Linked DNA regions of Homo sapiens: region 1 is linked to region 2. The links are contacts of gene promoters, found by promoter capture Hi-C in human tissues and cell types (Jung and others, 2019). All regions are on one chromosome and are shown on one strand. The core of a region is centred on a gene start or on the middle of the fragment in contact, and the rest is flanking DNA. Distances in the headings are between cores, read along the strand shown. Region 1 overlaps LOC107986606 (a long non-coding RNA gene). Region 2 holds the start of FAM83B (family with sequence similarity 83 member B).

Region 1 (7,322 bases), core at 1,266-3,765, 73 kb before region 2:
CATTAGTTTGAGAAATAAAAGATGAGCAAAGATGGTAAGAAGAAGAAAAGTCAATGACAAAGTGTGTAATTATGTAAATACAATTAGTACTTTTTTCTTAAGGCATACTTAAGTAAAACTGGTAATTTTTATACATTACACTAAACTATTAGCATTGTTTTAGCATTACCTAATTTTTTTCCTGCTCCATGCAAACTGTTAGCTTTTACCTTAAATGCTTATTTTAAAATGACAGTGCAAACTTTTTTCCCCTAAGTGCCAGTATTACCAGAGTTTTGGTTTTCAAACTAGCAATGCCTGTGAAAAAGAAACTGAATACCTTTGATTTCTGTCTTGGGGTTTTTGGTGCATGCAGTTGATTACTTCTTATTTTTCTTACCAGTTGTGAACATCGGTGAGAAACAAATTAATGAAGCTTGTGAATCATCCCTATTCTGTGTTTTATCTAGTCACATAAATGGATTAATTACTAATTATAATTTCAGTTGAGGCTTTATAATTGGTTTTACTGAAACATTGAGGGAACACAAATTTATGGGATTTCTGATGATTCTTCTTCTAGGCATCATGTCCTGTAGTTTGTCATCCCCGGTGAATGTAAAGTTACACTGTTCACAAAGGTTTTGCCCCACTTTCCACTGCTACTAGTCACGGTCACTCTCTCAAAAATATTATATTTTTTCTATAAAAAAATGGAAAAAAATTACAAGGCAATGGAAACTATTATAAGGCCATTTCCTTTTCACATTAGATAAATTATTATAAGAACTCCTAATAGTTTTTTCGGTTAAGGGAGACCCAGTATGAAATGGGAATTATAGCAACCATTTTCGGGCTATATTTACATGGTACTAAATTTTTATAATAATTGAAAGAATTTTAACAGGTATAAAACATTCTCACAGGAATTAAATGTAGTCTCCCTGTGTCAGATTTCTCTTTCGTAGTATAACTTTAAATCTTTTATTCAACTTCAGTCTTTGAAGATAGTTTTAATTCTGCTTGTGTTATTAAAGATTATTTGGGCCAGTCATAGCTTAGTAAGTGTTGAAGAGACCAAGTTTGCAAGGCCAGGCCCTGTGTGAACCTTTGAGCTTTCATAGAGAGTTTCACAGCATGGACTGTGTCCCCATGGTCATCCAGCGTTGTCATGCATTGGTTGGTCAAAATGGGGAGGGATTAGGACAGTTTGGAAAGCTCAACAAATACATTCTCACTCTGTGGCAGTCCTGCTGACAAATCAAGAGCATCGCTTTTGTTTTTAAGAAAACAAAATCTTTTTTAAAAATTACTTTTAAATATTAACTCAAAAGTTGAGATTTTGGGGTGGTGGTGTGCAAAGACATTAATTTTTTTAAACAATGAAGTGAAAAAGCTTTAAAATCTCTAGGTTTGGCTAGTTCTCTTAACACGGGTTAAATTAACATTTCATAAACACTTTTCAAGTCTGATGCATATTTAAGATTAATGCTTTAAAAATAAATATTAATAAAATAATCCTATTAATACACTTAAAATGTTACTTATTTTAAAATATATGAAGTGAGATGGTGTGGTGAGGTGAAAATATCACTGGACTAGAAGGAAGGTGACTTAGGTTCTAGATATGTGTCTTTTAGGACTCTGATTTTGAGGAAATCACTTACTATCCATTTCTTCATGTTAAAAGAAGTCATCTCAAACTCATTGCTTTTTTACAACTATATAATTTATATTCCGTTTACATAGGATACACTTATTTGTCAAGCTCAGCACAATCTGTAACTTTTTAACCTATGTTACCATCTTCAGTGACAGTGACAATCTTGGGCAAAATTGTGCAAGAGGTAAAGTTTATATTTGAATATCCATTCTCGTTTTAGGACTCTCCTTCTGTATTAGTGTCATCTTGCCTGCCTGCCTTCCACATGCCCCATGATTTGATGTAATTTTAATACTTCTAATTCCCCTAACCATAAGATTTACTGCTGCTGTGGATATCTCCATGAAGGTTTCCCATTAAGTCACATCAAAATCCCTTACATCTTATTTCCTCAGGTCTCAAAAGAATCTGACAGATATCATAATGGGATTTGACCTAATAGCTAATTTTCAGGTGGTGGCTGATTCTTTGAACACCTCTTTGCTGCCCAATTCATTAGTGATAGTAGGAATTTTCAAACCTGGTATGAACAGACAGAACCCTATCCAGTGGAAGGAGATTTTAATAACGATACTGCTGAAAGAATTTCTTAGGTAATCTACAATTAGGACTACCCCTGGTAACAGTAATACATTCCAATGTTTTAATAACCAGAAATCTTCTTACAATGAAAAATACTTTAATTCATAAAGCTTACTGGTTTTGTTTGTTTGTTTGTTTTTAGGCGGGGTCAGAGTCTCACTCTGTCACCCAGGCTGGAATGCAGTGGCGCCATCTTGTCTTACTGTCTCACTGTAACCTCCATCTCCCAGGTTCAAGCGATTCTCATGCCTCAGCCTCCCGAGTAGCTGGGATTACAGGCGTGTGCCACCATGCTCAGCTAATTTTTGTATTTTTAGTAGAGACAGGGTTTCACCCTATTGGCCAGGCTGGTCTCAAATTCCTGACCTCAAGTGATTCGCCCGCCTCGGCCCCATAAAGCTTACTGTTTTGCAGAACTCATTTACTCAGTAAATATATACTGAGTGCCTACCAGATGCCAGTCACTGCCTAAGGCACTGGGTATATGGTATCCCCAAACAAGAGGCATAATCCCAGTCCTTAGGTAGTGCTAGCATGGTCTGTAATATCTTAGTAAGGCCTTCGGCATATGACCCAGAGATAACACAACGTGTATTTTAGTTTTGCAAAGAAGGGGTTTGGTCTCTAAGGTTTCTTCCAGTTCTATAATTGTTTTGCTGTGATTCCAGTGCAACTCTTTGATCTAGCTACTTTATGTAAATCACTTCATTATTTTAAAGGAATAAACTTGATTATATTGTGTTTTATTTGGCATAACTATATGATTCTGTTGGGCCAATTACTGTACCCATTAAGGTATATGTCAGATACTCACAAAATTCCCAAATGTGTAGTATTCCAGTTTTCTCTGCATAAGTAATTAAAATAGACTTAAAAATTAAATATTTACTTCTAAAATAGTTTTATCTGGATGCAAATAAACAGGCGCCTGAACTAGTTCATAGACAATGAAACTTCTATGTAAAAATCAGTATGATTTCTGAAATACTATGCTAAACTACAGATCTGTGGAACATTGTTTAGGTAGGGTGTTATACAGTACCTCTTGTTTCTACACAGAGAAAGAAATGGTTATACTTCAGGAACTGCAGAGCTTATGAGGGGATATTTAGGCCTCTTGAATTTTTTATGTAGATGGACATTTTTTAAGGTAATGATAATTACCTTTTATTATGTGAACTTTGAATGGTTTAACAAAAGGTTTGTTATTGTAGCGATTTTTAAAGTGGGAGAATTCTAGAAAGAAATGTTATCTAATTATTACAGCCTTAAAGATAAAAATCCTTGTTGAAGTTTTTCCAAAAAGTGCTAAATTACATAGTCTTAGGCATTAACATGTTTGTGGAAGAATAGAGCAGACATATATTGTATGATTTGAGTGAATATTTCCACTTAGGCATTCTAGGCTCTATTTTAACTGAGTCACACTGCCTAGGAATTTAGAACCTAACTTTTATAGGTTATCAAAACTGTTGCCACCATTGCATAATTTTGTCCTAATATATATATGGAAACTTTGTGGGGCATGTTAAGTTACAGTTTGCACAAGTTCATCTCATTTGTATTCCAGTGATTTTTTTTTTAATCCAACCATTATTTCTTCAGTGTATATACATTTAGGGGATATTTCTTTAGACACAAAAACTATCTGAAGATTTCCATTTGTTAAAAAGTCATGATATCTTGATAATTATGTAGTAATTTTTTTTAGAACAAAGCAGTTACTTTAAGGCTGAATTTATATTTAATAACTTCTGTGTTAATACTGGATAGCATGAATTCTGCGTTGAGCAATTGAACAGCATACTACTGATAGCTGTCTGTCAAAAATGAAAATTTCTTTCTAAAGATACTCACATGAGTTCTTGAAGAATAGTCATAACTAGACTAAGATTTGTGTTTTAGTTTAATAGTTTGAAGTGCCTGTTTGGGATAATGATAGGTAATTTAGATGAATTTAGGGGGAAAAAAGTTATCTGCAGAAATGTTGAGGGCTCATCCCCACCCAGCAAATAGAGCTAACTGGGTTACAATGTTTTATCCGAAAGTTTCCAATTCCACTGTCCTGTGTTTTCACGTTGAAAATACTTTTGCATTTTTTCTTTGAGTGCCAATTTCTTACTAGTACTATTTCTTAATGTAACATATTTACCTGGAATGTATTTTGTGTAAACTGAAACATGCACATTTTGTACATTGTGCTTTCTTTTGTGGGACATATGCAGTGTGATCCAGTTGTTTTCCATCATTTGGTTGCGCTGACCTAGGAATGCTGGTCATATCAAACATTAAAAATTACCACTCTTTTAATTGAAATTAACTTTTAAATGTTTATAGGAGTATGTGCTGTGATCTGAAATTTGTAATATTTTTGTCATGAACTGTATAGCTCCTAATTATTACAATGTAATAAAAATAGTTACAGTAAAAAAAATTGAGAATTCTGATTCAGTAGTTCTGGGATGTGGCCAAAGTTTCTGCATTTCTCACATTCTTCCAAGTGATAATGATGATACTGCTGCAAGGGGTCCAAGCTACACATGTTGAGGAGCAAAACTATATAGATACTCATGTGACGTATCAAAGACAACACCATGTCCAACACACATGCACACATACACATACACACACACACACACACACACACCCATTTATTCCTGAGGAATTATTACCTGCATGAAGTACATAATTCATTTGTTCTTGTAACTTTACACAGATTATTTTCTTTTTTCCTCTGGTATAATAATCTTTCTCTTTCTTATCAACTAATACATTCCTGGCCACAGCACACTTTATGCAAGTTCTTTTAAATAATAAACACTGAATCATAATTCTCTGAGACAGGAATTGGGTTTTTATTGTTATCCACATTACTGAGATATTTTTGTTTAATGAATATGAGTTGCTGCCCACAGGGGTCTTCCAATCCAGTTGGAGAGACAAAAATAATTGTCTTAATATACTATGAAGATTAGGAACAGAAACATAGAAACTCTTAAAATTGTGTTCCTAAGATAATAGTTTTACAAATATGGAATTTAATGGTTTCAAGTTCATAGACCTGTGTTAAAAACCCCAATGTCTTATCAAGAGAAAGGAGAAAGAAATGGAGGACAGTATGCTCTGTTAATGAAAAAAGCCGAACTCTGTAAAATATTGAAAGAGGCTTAGTCTGAGCCAAATATGAGTGACCATGGCCTGGAATAGAGTCTAAAGCTGTCTTGAGAACATATGCCCAAGTCAATCTGGTTAAACTTGGTTTTATACATTTTAGGGAGACAGAGATTACAAGCCAAGGCATACGTTAATACATGTAAGGTATATATTGGTTTGGCCCAGAAAGGCAGGACATCTCAAAACCAGGGACTTACAGGTCATAAATGGATTCAAAAATTTTCTCATTAGCAATTGGTTGAAAGGATTAAGCTTAGGCCAGGTGCGATGGCTCATGCCTGTAATCCCAGCACTTTGGGAGGCTGAGACGGGCGGATCACCTGAGGTTAGGAGTTCAAGACCAGTCTGGCCAACATGGTGAAACCCTATCTCTACTAAAAAAAAGAAATTACAAAAAATTAGCCAGGCAAGGGGGTGGGCACCTGTAATCTCAGCTACTTGGGAGGCTGAGGCAAGAGAATCGCTTGAACCCAGGGGTCAGAGTTTAGAGTCAGCCAAGATCATGCCACTGCACTCCAGCTTGGGCAACAGAGCACTCCTTCTCAAAAAAAAAAAAAAAAAGAATTAAGCTTTGCCTAAAGAGTTGAATCAGCAGAAAGAAATGCTTGAATTAAGATAAGGAGGGTTATGGAAGCCAATGTTCTTGTTATGTAAATGAAGCCTCTAAGTAGCAAGCTTCAGAGACAATAGATCATAAATGTCTCTTTCAGGGCATTAAAAGGTGTCAAAGTCTTAGTTAAATGTCTCCTGAATCTGGAAAAGACCTGGAAAGGGAAGGAGACTCTCTACAGGATGCAAATTTTCCCCACAAGAGACAACTTTGCAAGTCTATTTCAAAATATGTCAAAGAAATATATTTTAGGGTAGAACACTTCGATTTTCTTCAGGGTCTTCTCCCTGTCATGTGATGCTATACCAGAGACAGGTTGGAATTTGACACTTTATTGTTACAAAGAGTGTTTTGTCAATCTTATGATCCCTATTTTAATGTTAATGCTGATTAGTTAAACTGGGGGTATATGTTAGAGAAGGGGTATAATGGAGCATGTCCAACCCTCTTCCTGTCATGAACTGAACTAGGTCTTCAGGTTCCCTTAGCCAAAGATTGGGAGTCCTTTCGGTTGGTTAGGGGACTTAGAATTTTAGTTTTGATTTATATGTCCAAATATAATAGATTCTCATGGGAGTCAGAATGATAGTGGTGAAAGGGCAGAACTCCACTTGTTTACCGTAAAAGAGAGGAGAGAGAGAATAGACAATACATGAAAGACAACAATAGACATTATCCATGGTCCATCTTTTTGTGTAGGGTAAGCAATGAAGAATATATGGAAATTAGCATGACCAAAATGAAGGTGCAGTGCTGGAATTATCAGCGGGAAAGTGGATAGGCCTGAAAATGAAGAAGCCTGAATGCAATGTTTAGTCACTGGGCATGAGAGGGCAGCGAGCAGGACATTAATGTTTCTGAGTAAGACAAGTGCCATAACGAAATGTATTTAAGAATTTGTATTTTAAAAAACAAAATTTAAATAGAATATTGTGTTAATCAGATTTAAATACAGCATGATCTGCTCACAAAATTATTCCTTCAACATGTGTCATAAAATATTTGAAAAAGAAAATATTCTATGTGACATTTTGATTTACCTTTCCTATTATTGTAACCACAGGACCAACCTATAGTGGGCCTACTCTGTTGATAAGATAATGTCAGGTTACCTTGTAGGTATAACAGAGCCTAAACTGGAAGTTATGTAGCCCCACCACATGTAATAGAAAAAGATTTGACCTCTAACAACACCCGGAACCAAGGATTCCTCCCCACAGAACCAAAAAGGCTGGGACATGATAAATACTGGAATCCTTTCAAAGGTGAGGGATCTTTTGACCCAGAAGATTCAGAATGTATTAGTCCATTCTT
Region 2 (7,538 bases), core at 2,299-4,798:
TAAGTACTTTGAGGGCAGGAAAAAATACCTGATTGCTTTTGAACCCCCTTGTATATTTGAACTCAATATGGGAGGCAAATACATGCCTGTTAAGTGTAACTTCGTATTTCCACTGATTTGTTTAGACTTTAGATTAAATATTATAGAATGAGGGTAAAGATGCAAATGAAGATTGAGTTGACTTGTAGTTTTTAAAAGCCTTTTTTTTTTTTTTTTTTCTTAAAGACGGAATCTCGCTCTGTCTCCAGGCTGGAGTGCAGTGGCACGGTCTGAGCTCACTGCAATCTCCACCTCCCGGGTTCAAGTGATTCTCTTGCCTCAGCCCCCCAAGTAGCTGGGATTACAGGTGTGCACCACCACACCCAGCTAATTTTTGTATTTTTAGTACAGATGAGGTTTCACTATATTAGCCAGGATGGTCTCAATCACCTGACCTCGTGATCCTGCCACGGCCTCCCAAAGTGCTGGGATTACAGGTGTGAGCCATTAGTGTAATCTTCCCATCCATCCTGTTAGCTACTTTTAAAGTATTAACTGTAAAAGTCTAGTTTTAGTTTCTGTCTTAAATATAACCTATCCATTTAAAAAATAATACAGTTGAGAATTTATTAGGCATACTTATCATATGGAGAGACTGAGGTTTTATATCTCCCTTCCCATATCATCTGGACCTTGTTCATTACCCATTATTCTTTCTATTCTCTGCTATTTCCTTTCCAACACATTTACAGAAAGATTCCCAACAACTTGAAAACAACCTTTCACATGATCCTGCTCCTGCCTCTTCCTACTTTTCACATACATGGCCATTTTATTTCTTTCTTTCCCTCTACTGATGACTTTTGGCAGCTTGAAAACACTTAGGTTATAACTTGGGCAACATGGTGAAACCCTGTCTCTATTAAAAAAAATACAAAAATTAGCTGGGTTTGGTGGTATGCACCTGTAATCCCAGCTACTAGGGAGGCTGAGGTGGGAGAGTTGCTTGAGCTGAAAAGTTGGATGTTGCAGTGAGTTGAGACACTACACTCCAGCCTAGGGGGCAGAGCAAGATCCTGTTTCAAAAAAAGGAAAGAAAGAAAAGAAAACCTAGTTATTTCTTTCACTTTCAATTCTACATCCATTCTATCTGATGCAAATCATATTGATTTTCTATTTCATTGGCTCTCAAATCGGTTTCCTCCTTTTCATTTTCACTATTCCTTCCCTTGTCATACTATTCACATGACAGCTAGGCATAACTACTCTTCCTGACTCCCTAGAATTTATACCAAAGTCACCAACTGTTAGATTAGTCAACATATCACCAGCAAGAGACACAAGTCCATATTTTTCAGCTTGCAATCAGAGTTCTTCCCAATCTGATTCCCAGTATAATTAATAGTAATGCACTTACGGGCTTACCACAGATCAAGAGCTGGGATGTTTTCCACATACCATATCTAATTTATAATTCTCACAACAATCTTAGATTATAAATAATTTTGATCTCATTCTGTGAGAAAATTACTCCAAACTTTATGTCTAAATGTATCTTCCACCACTCACAACCATGTGATGCCCATGGCCAAATCAGGTAATTGATTTGCGTGGTTCTGGAACTTGCTTTTAGCCTTTACTCTGCTCTTTCAGCATCTAATCACATGTCAATTTCATTCTCCTGACAAGTTTGCTCATCAGTCGGGACCCAACTCAAATTCTAATAGTTCTGTGAAATTCTGTCCACATTCCTCACCCACCTTCTAGGCTCCTTAAGGGGTGAGATCAATTTTATCTATTTTTCCATCCCATTAAGGATGGAAAGGTCTTACATAGCATAATACCTTTAATAGATTCTCCCTCTCCACGTCTATTTTCTGATCTTTTGTTTGCTTTTAATAATGAACACTCGAGTAGATATATCCTTCTTTCTTTGTGATTTCACTTGACTTAGCATGAGTGCATATCTTAATAAAATTAGACTTCCTATGGGCCTCATTTAACTCCAAATATTCTTGATATTTTTAACAATAGGATAAGTGCATCTCAAAACGTTCATAAGTATTGCACCTTTAAGAGACATTCAGAATTATTCTCAAAGGCTGTAGAAACACGCCAGTATATTAAGTACCACATAGAGAATATTAATTTAGTCAATGGATTGCATGCCAAAAATGAGGAAGAGAACTGAAAAAATATTAAAAAGTGAGATGTGAAAATTAGGAACAGAAGGAAAAAATAAATACATAAAACAAGACAATTCTCTACATTCTTTTGAAGAAATGAAACTACAAACCAGACACCAAGATCTGGAAGATTAGCTTTGTACTAATCCTGGAATTTGCTTTTACTTTCCTGTCTTTGGCCTTTGCTCTGATGTTTCAGTATCTAGACTAATGCGAATTTCATTCTTCAGTTTAAATCAGCACGTCAGTCAGGGATTCATCCAAACCTTAATGGCTTAGCATTTTCCTCAACTGTTTTATTTGGAGCAAAATCGCCACGAAAGTCATTTTTAAGGGTCAATTCAATTTTATGATAATTTATATATTATGCCAGACGCTTAAAATATGCCTATTACTACCCTAAATTCCATTCTTACAGTACTAGGCTGCATTTTAGACATTTGCTGCAAATGACTTTATCTTGAAGTCTACGTGATTACACAAATTATTATAAATACTCATGACAGATTTACTGAGGTGTAGGCAAGGAAATTAAAAAATAAATTTTATTAATTACTGTATTTTATGTTTAAATTATAGTGTCTCCACTTCCGTAACATTGCTCCGCAGTATCCCACCTAGAGGGACCTGCTTTCACGCACATCTCCCTATTTTAAACAATATCCTTTCATCCCAAATCTGTAACTAGGACAGTTGAGAGTCAGTACCAAAATCTTTGATGATATTTGAAATTCTTTTACATAAAAAAGTAAAGGCACAAGCACTTTTTCTTCTACTTTTCCACTCCCCACGTCCTCTCCAAGCCTAAAGACTCTTAGGCACTGAGAAGGAGTCTGCACTGCGGGATGCCCACTGGAATTACCTACTGTGGGCTGAATCCGCCCCACACTCTCGAAGGTGCTACAACCCTTGCTCTCACCCGCGGCCCCCAGGCCTCTCCTCCAGGCATTCTTGAGCCCAGGGAAAAGCGAGGACGGGACCACGGCCCCGCTCGGCCTAGATCCGCCTTCTTCCCAGGTGAGCGTCGCTGTCCTCCGGGATCGCTCCTCGCCCCAGACCAGGAGCAGGGTGTCGGGACTTGTAATTGCCCCGTAGCCCCGAGGGCGGGCAGGAAAGAAAGGCTTTTTCATACTCCGCTGGGAGAGAGCAGGGTGTTTGAGTTCAGACAGGTTCCGAGCGCTTTCTGGCTGTTCGGGGTTTGGCGTGCCACCACTTGGGACTTGTTGTAACCCGTCTCCACTCCCGCCCCCTCCAGCGCTGCACCTTGTCTCGGGGAGGCGCGGTTCGAGCCGGAATCAGCCTCCCTCCGCGGACCTGACGCTGGGCAGGTAACTCCCCTCCCCTCCCTGCCCGCGCCCAGGCGCTTGCTGCTTCCTGGGAGGCAAACCTTCGGCGGCCGGCGCTGTGCGGCGGGCGCGGTTGCGCGCGGCTTGGGGCAAGTAAGTGGGGTTTGGGCTCCCTTGCCCCGGACCTCGGCGGACGGGACCCCAGCGGGTGCAGGGTTGAGGTGCTTGGGGTACTGGGGGGGCCCGGGGCTTCACCCGCCCCTGGCCGGCGCGGCGGACGGGAGGGATAGGGGACTCTCCCTTGGGAGCGCAGGCGGGATTGGAAATTCCACAGGGTGTAAAGCTCAGTTGCTTCAGTCTTTTCTACGTTTCTTTCATTGTCGTGGGGGTTCGAGTGAGTTGAGAAGTTTGAAAAGTTGTCTCGGGCGGAGTCGGTTTGGGTCCCCAGAGGACTGGCGCCGCCCCTCGTGGAGGCTGCATTTGTTTCCTCTTTTCCAGTGTAGGAGTGCGCCGAGGACCCCGGGAGGGGAAGCGGGAGGAGAGACCGCTGGGAAAAGTCTCGTGGGAGGAAGTCCAGGGTGGAAGCAGAGGGCATGGGGGTGGGGGGTTCCGGGAAAAGGTGGGAGAGCTTAGGTCGCTGAGGGGCGTGGGTGTTCTTTAGATCCTGAGTGGGGAGCAGAACTTGAAAAGACAGTTTTTTCACACAACCTCTTAATTGTACAGGATCCCGTTTCTGAGTGCAGACTGGTAGCGACCTGTGTTTTTCATACTTGGGTCGGCCTGAGTCTGGGTCTGTGTGCCCTAGCAGCTCTCCAGGAGAGCCTGTACCTACCAAAGTTTGAGAACCACTGCTCTAGATCCTGGTGAGTGATCTAGAAGAGGAGAGTAGGCCTAGAGCAGATTGCTCCTGGAACGGGACTTGGAGACTTTTGGCCTATTCTGTGTGATATGTGGGGAGACTTACCTGTGTAAGGTTAATGGACAGGCAGAGAATGCCTGTGTTCATTGCAGGAGTCATAGGTATGTAAAGAGACAACAGCGCTTTCTTTATAGGAGGAGGCTGGGAGGTTATGGAAACACAGGTTAGCATGTTGTCTATGCTCGGAGCGGTGAAGTTATAGGGTCTCTCTGACCTAGAAGTGGAAATGAGAGCTCAGGCGGCCAGAACACTTAAGAAGAAGGTGTGCGGGTGGCAAGCAATTGAGGCTAGAATTTAATGCTCAACAGCTTATGTCCAAATTCCCAGTTACAAACATCTTGCTAGGTTACTGGCAGGCACCTCCCTTCTTTCCCTTTCTCATCCTAACAAGTGCAAGAGCCCCGAGGAAATCCATGACTGAGGCTGAATCATTGCTGACAAGCAACAGGAAGGGAGAGAGTGATGAAAGAGACTTAGAAGAGAAAACTGGGGTTTTTTGTTTTTTATTGGAGTGGGGGTGGGGGTGGCGGTGGGAGGCTCAAAATGATTGGAGAATGAGAATAATGTGAAACAGAATGATGGAAGGTTGGGAGTGCAGGTCTTTGTTGCGTTTGTTTCTCTCTGTCTTCCTATAGTTCCCAGAAAAGTAGAAGTCCCCACACCTTCCAATTGCAAATTCCACCCCCTTGCCTTTGGGGCTCAGGCACACGTGGGGTATACACCTATTTAGGGTGCTGGCTACACCCTCTAGAGCCTGCCTAAGGGGCTGGGTGGATCCTGCCTTTAAAGCTGGCAGGCTTTAGACCGCAGATGCTGAGAATTTATTGTGGGAAGCATTACCAGTTGAACAGTTGCTGAAAGAGATTGTATAGATGGAGACAAACCACACCTCTGGTGCTGACTCAGTGATGTCTTTTACGTTTATGCCCTTGAGTTTATGACGCTAACTGGCTAAACTTTTTTGGGATGAAGTAATTAATTTTATTAATCTTTCTATTTTATTTCCTCTACCGTCCACCGTTCTTTATAGGTTAAGGTGGAGGTTCATTCACTGAGTATTTTCTTGACCATGACTCACCTTGCAGCAACTAACCTACTTGTTTCCCATTTAATTACATTATACAATACTGAGTTGCCAAAATGTAATGTTATTATACTTTTAAGTGTCCAGAATCTTGGGGTGAAACTGTTATCCCATCAAAGCGGGACTCTTCTAATACATAAATCTGGTTGGAGGAGACCTTTTGAAAAGAGGCCACTTAGCTTAATTTAATGAATTATTGGTAAAATTTCAAGTTGTCCTTGTTTATCTAGTTAGGTAAGTTTGCACGTCTGTCCCTTTATAAGTTGCAAAATGTGAATGTCCCATGGATGTTTCACAATTCACCTTTTTAAACACAATGTTTTGTTCATTTTGAAATGTGCTTTTGTTCCTTTAATTTCTGATCTGGAGATGGAATGTATTTTAGAATTTTGTTGTTGAATTTATCATCTGAACATCAGAATACATCCGCTCCCCCATGGAAACAGAGTTCTAAATGATGGTTATTCACAGCCCAGCTTTAAGGATGCCGTAGATAAAAAGTTGTACAAATAGCACTTAAACTCCATCAAGAATCAAAGCCAACAACATTTCTCTGAGAAAATGTGTTAGAGCCTTCAGTGGGAGCTTCCTTCCCACTGAGGTGTGCCAATGGGCATGGGCACTGTCTAGAAGTATCCTGGCCCCTAAGGGTAGAGCAGGCTTCCCAAGGGGATTGGGAGGCTGAGTGCTGTGGGCTCCTGAGACAAGAGCTGGGGGAAATGGTAGGCTCCAGTGGAAAGGATATACGTGGAGGTGAGGTGGAGTGGGGGGCAAGTGGGCTGTATGCTGGGGAGGAGGGTGCACTAAGGAGGCAGGGGGCTAACATGTACAGAAGGTAGGGGTGGGTGATGGAGGGGGCAAAGGATGTTTTCAGGGGCTGTGATGCTGTAAGGAAGGTGAGCCTTGGTGGAGAGATGATCCAAATATGAGAGATATTCATTGGGCATGCTGTCTATGTTGGGAAGTCCTGGAATCACATGATCATGAACGGTAGGAAACTTTTCCTCTGGGGACATCTAATTACTACCCAGTTTGTCTTTTGTTTTATTTTTACATTGTCCTTAAGAGTGGGGTGAGAAGTCCCCTAAGGGCACATGACATTTATCTTTTCAGCTGTGTCTTAAATAATTTGTAGATTACTGGTCCATGGGAAACTTAAATTAGTCATGGTCAGCCTCTCTTGCATACTGACATAGAGTCAGGTGTAGTCTCCCGGTTACTGGCAGGGGCCTATGTTGAAGAGTTTATAGAGAAGTTATGCAGTGATGATGATTATCTAATGGCTCTAACTTTGTGCTCTTTTACACTATCCCTTTGATTAAACATATTTATTGACCATTATCTGCCAAGCAATATGTTCCTCTCCAGGGGTAGGAAAGTAAAAATATATTCCTGGATCTTAGGAAGCTTCCAGTTTAGGAACCTAATGATAATTATAAGTACACAAATAAATAAATGGATCAAGTCCACTGATTTTTGTAGTTCCTTCCTATTCTCTGAAGGTCACAGCAGACGTTGTTTGTGTTCATTAATCATTTGTGAAATTGAACATTAGCAGCCCTGGGATAGTCATGTTTTTTGACAAAGTATTAACATTCTTTAGGCTTGCAGGTTTTTCACTGGTATTGTGAAAGGTTTAGACTATGTGGTCACTCCTGTGTCCCACCCACACTGCTCTGAAATTCTCTGTGATCACTTCTTATTGAGAGTATCATAAAATAATGTTAACTAAGGTTTCCCCACAGTATCACTGTGAAGCTTATTATTTCCACTTCTTTGGCCAAATTTTCATTTCAAAAGGTTTTCGTTCTTTAACATCAGATTCCTTCTTTGATTACATAAACATTACTACTTGGAGAAGAAAAGGCAGTTTTCAAAGCACTAAAGAGTGTCATCTTCCATCTCAATGGTGGTAATAGAATAACTCAACATAAGATGTTTGGGCTGTCATTTATATATACACACTGGCAATGATGGCTTTAATTCTTAACAGCATGTTACTCCAAATACCTAGTCTCATAAGACTCATTCAACAGATGTTTTAAAAGTACTATATTTTAACGGCTGGAAATAGTGGCTCACAC

Evidence for each region. The method cuts DNA at HindIII sites, captures the fragments that hold promoters and counts their contacts. A contact is called where the count stands out against the background at its distance.
Region 1: a fragment that was not itself captured here is called in contact with the fragment with the promoter of FAM83B in region 2 in 2 of the 25 tissues and cell types used here (dorsolateral prefrontal cortex and psoas muscle).

Annotation. Positions count from the first base shown.
Region 1 is chr6:54,771,057-54,778,378 of GRCh38, forward strand. The region is part of intron 1 of LOC107986606 (a long non-coding RNA gene); the gene reads right to left. It also overlaps the pseudogene KRASP1. Among named protein-coding and RNA genes, the nearest start is that of FAM83B, 72 kb to the right of the region's middle. The HindIII fragment of the contact is 3,241 bases long and covers 896-4,136 here.
Region 2 is chr6:54,843,223-54,850,760 of GRCh38, forward strand. It overlaps FAM83B (family with sequence similarity 83 member B), which reads left to right and starts at 3,549. Exons shown (of 5, transcript NM_001010872.3): 1 at 3,549-3,604. The HindIII fragment of the contact is 13,561 bases long and covers 1-7,036 here.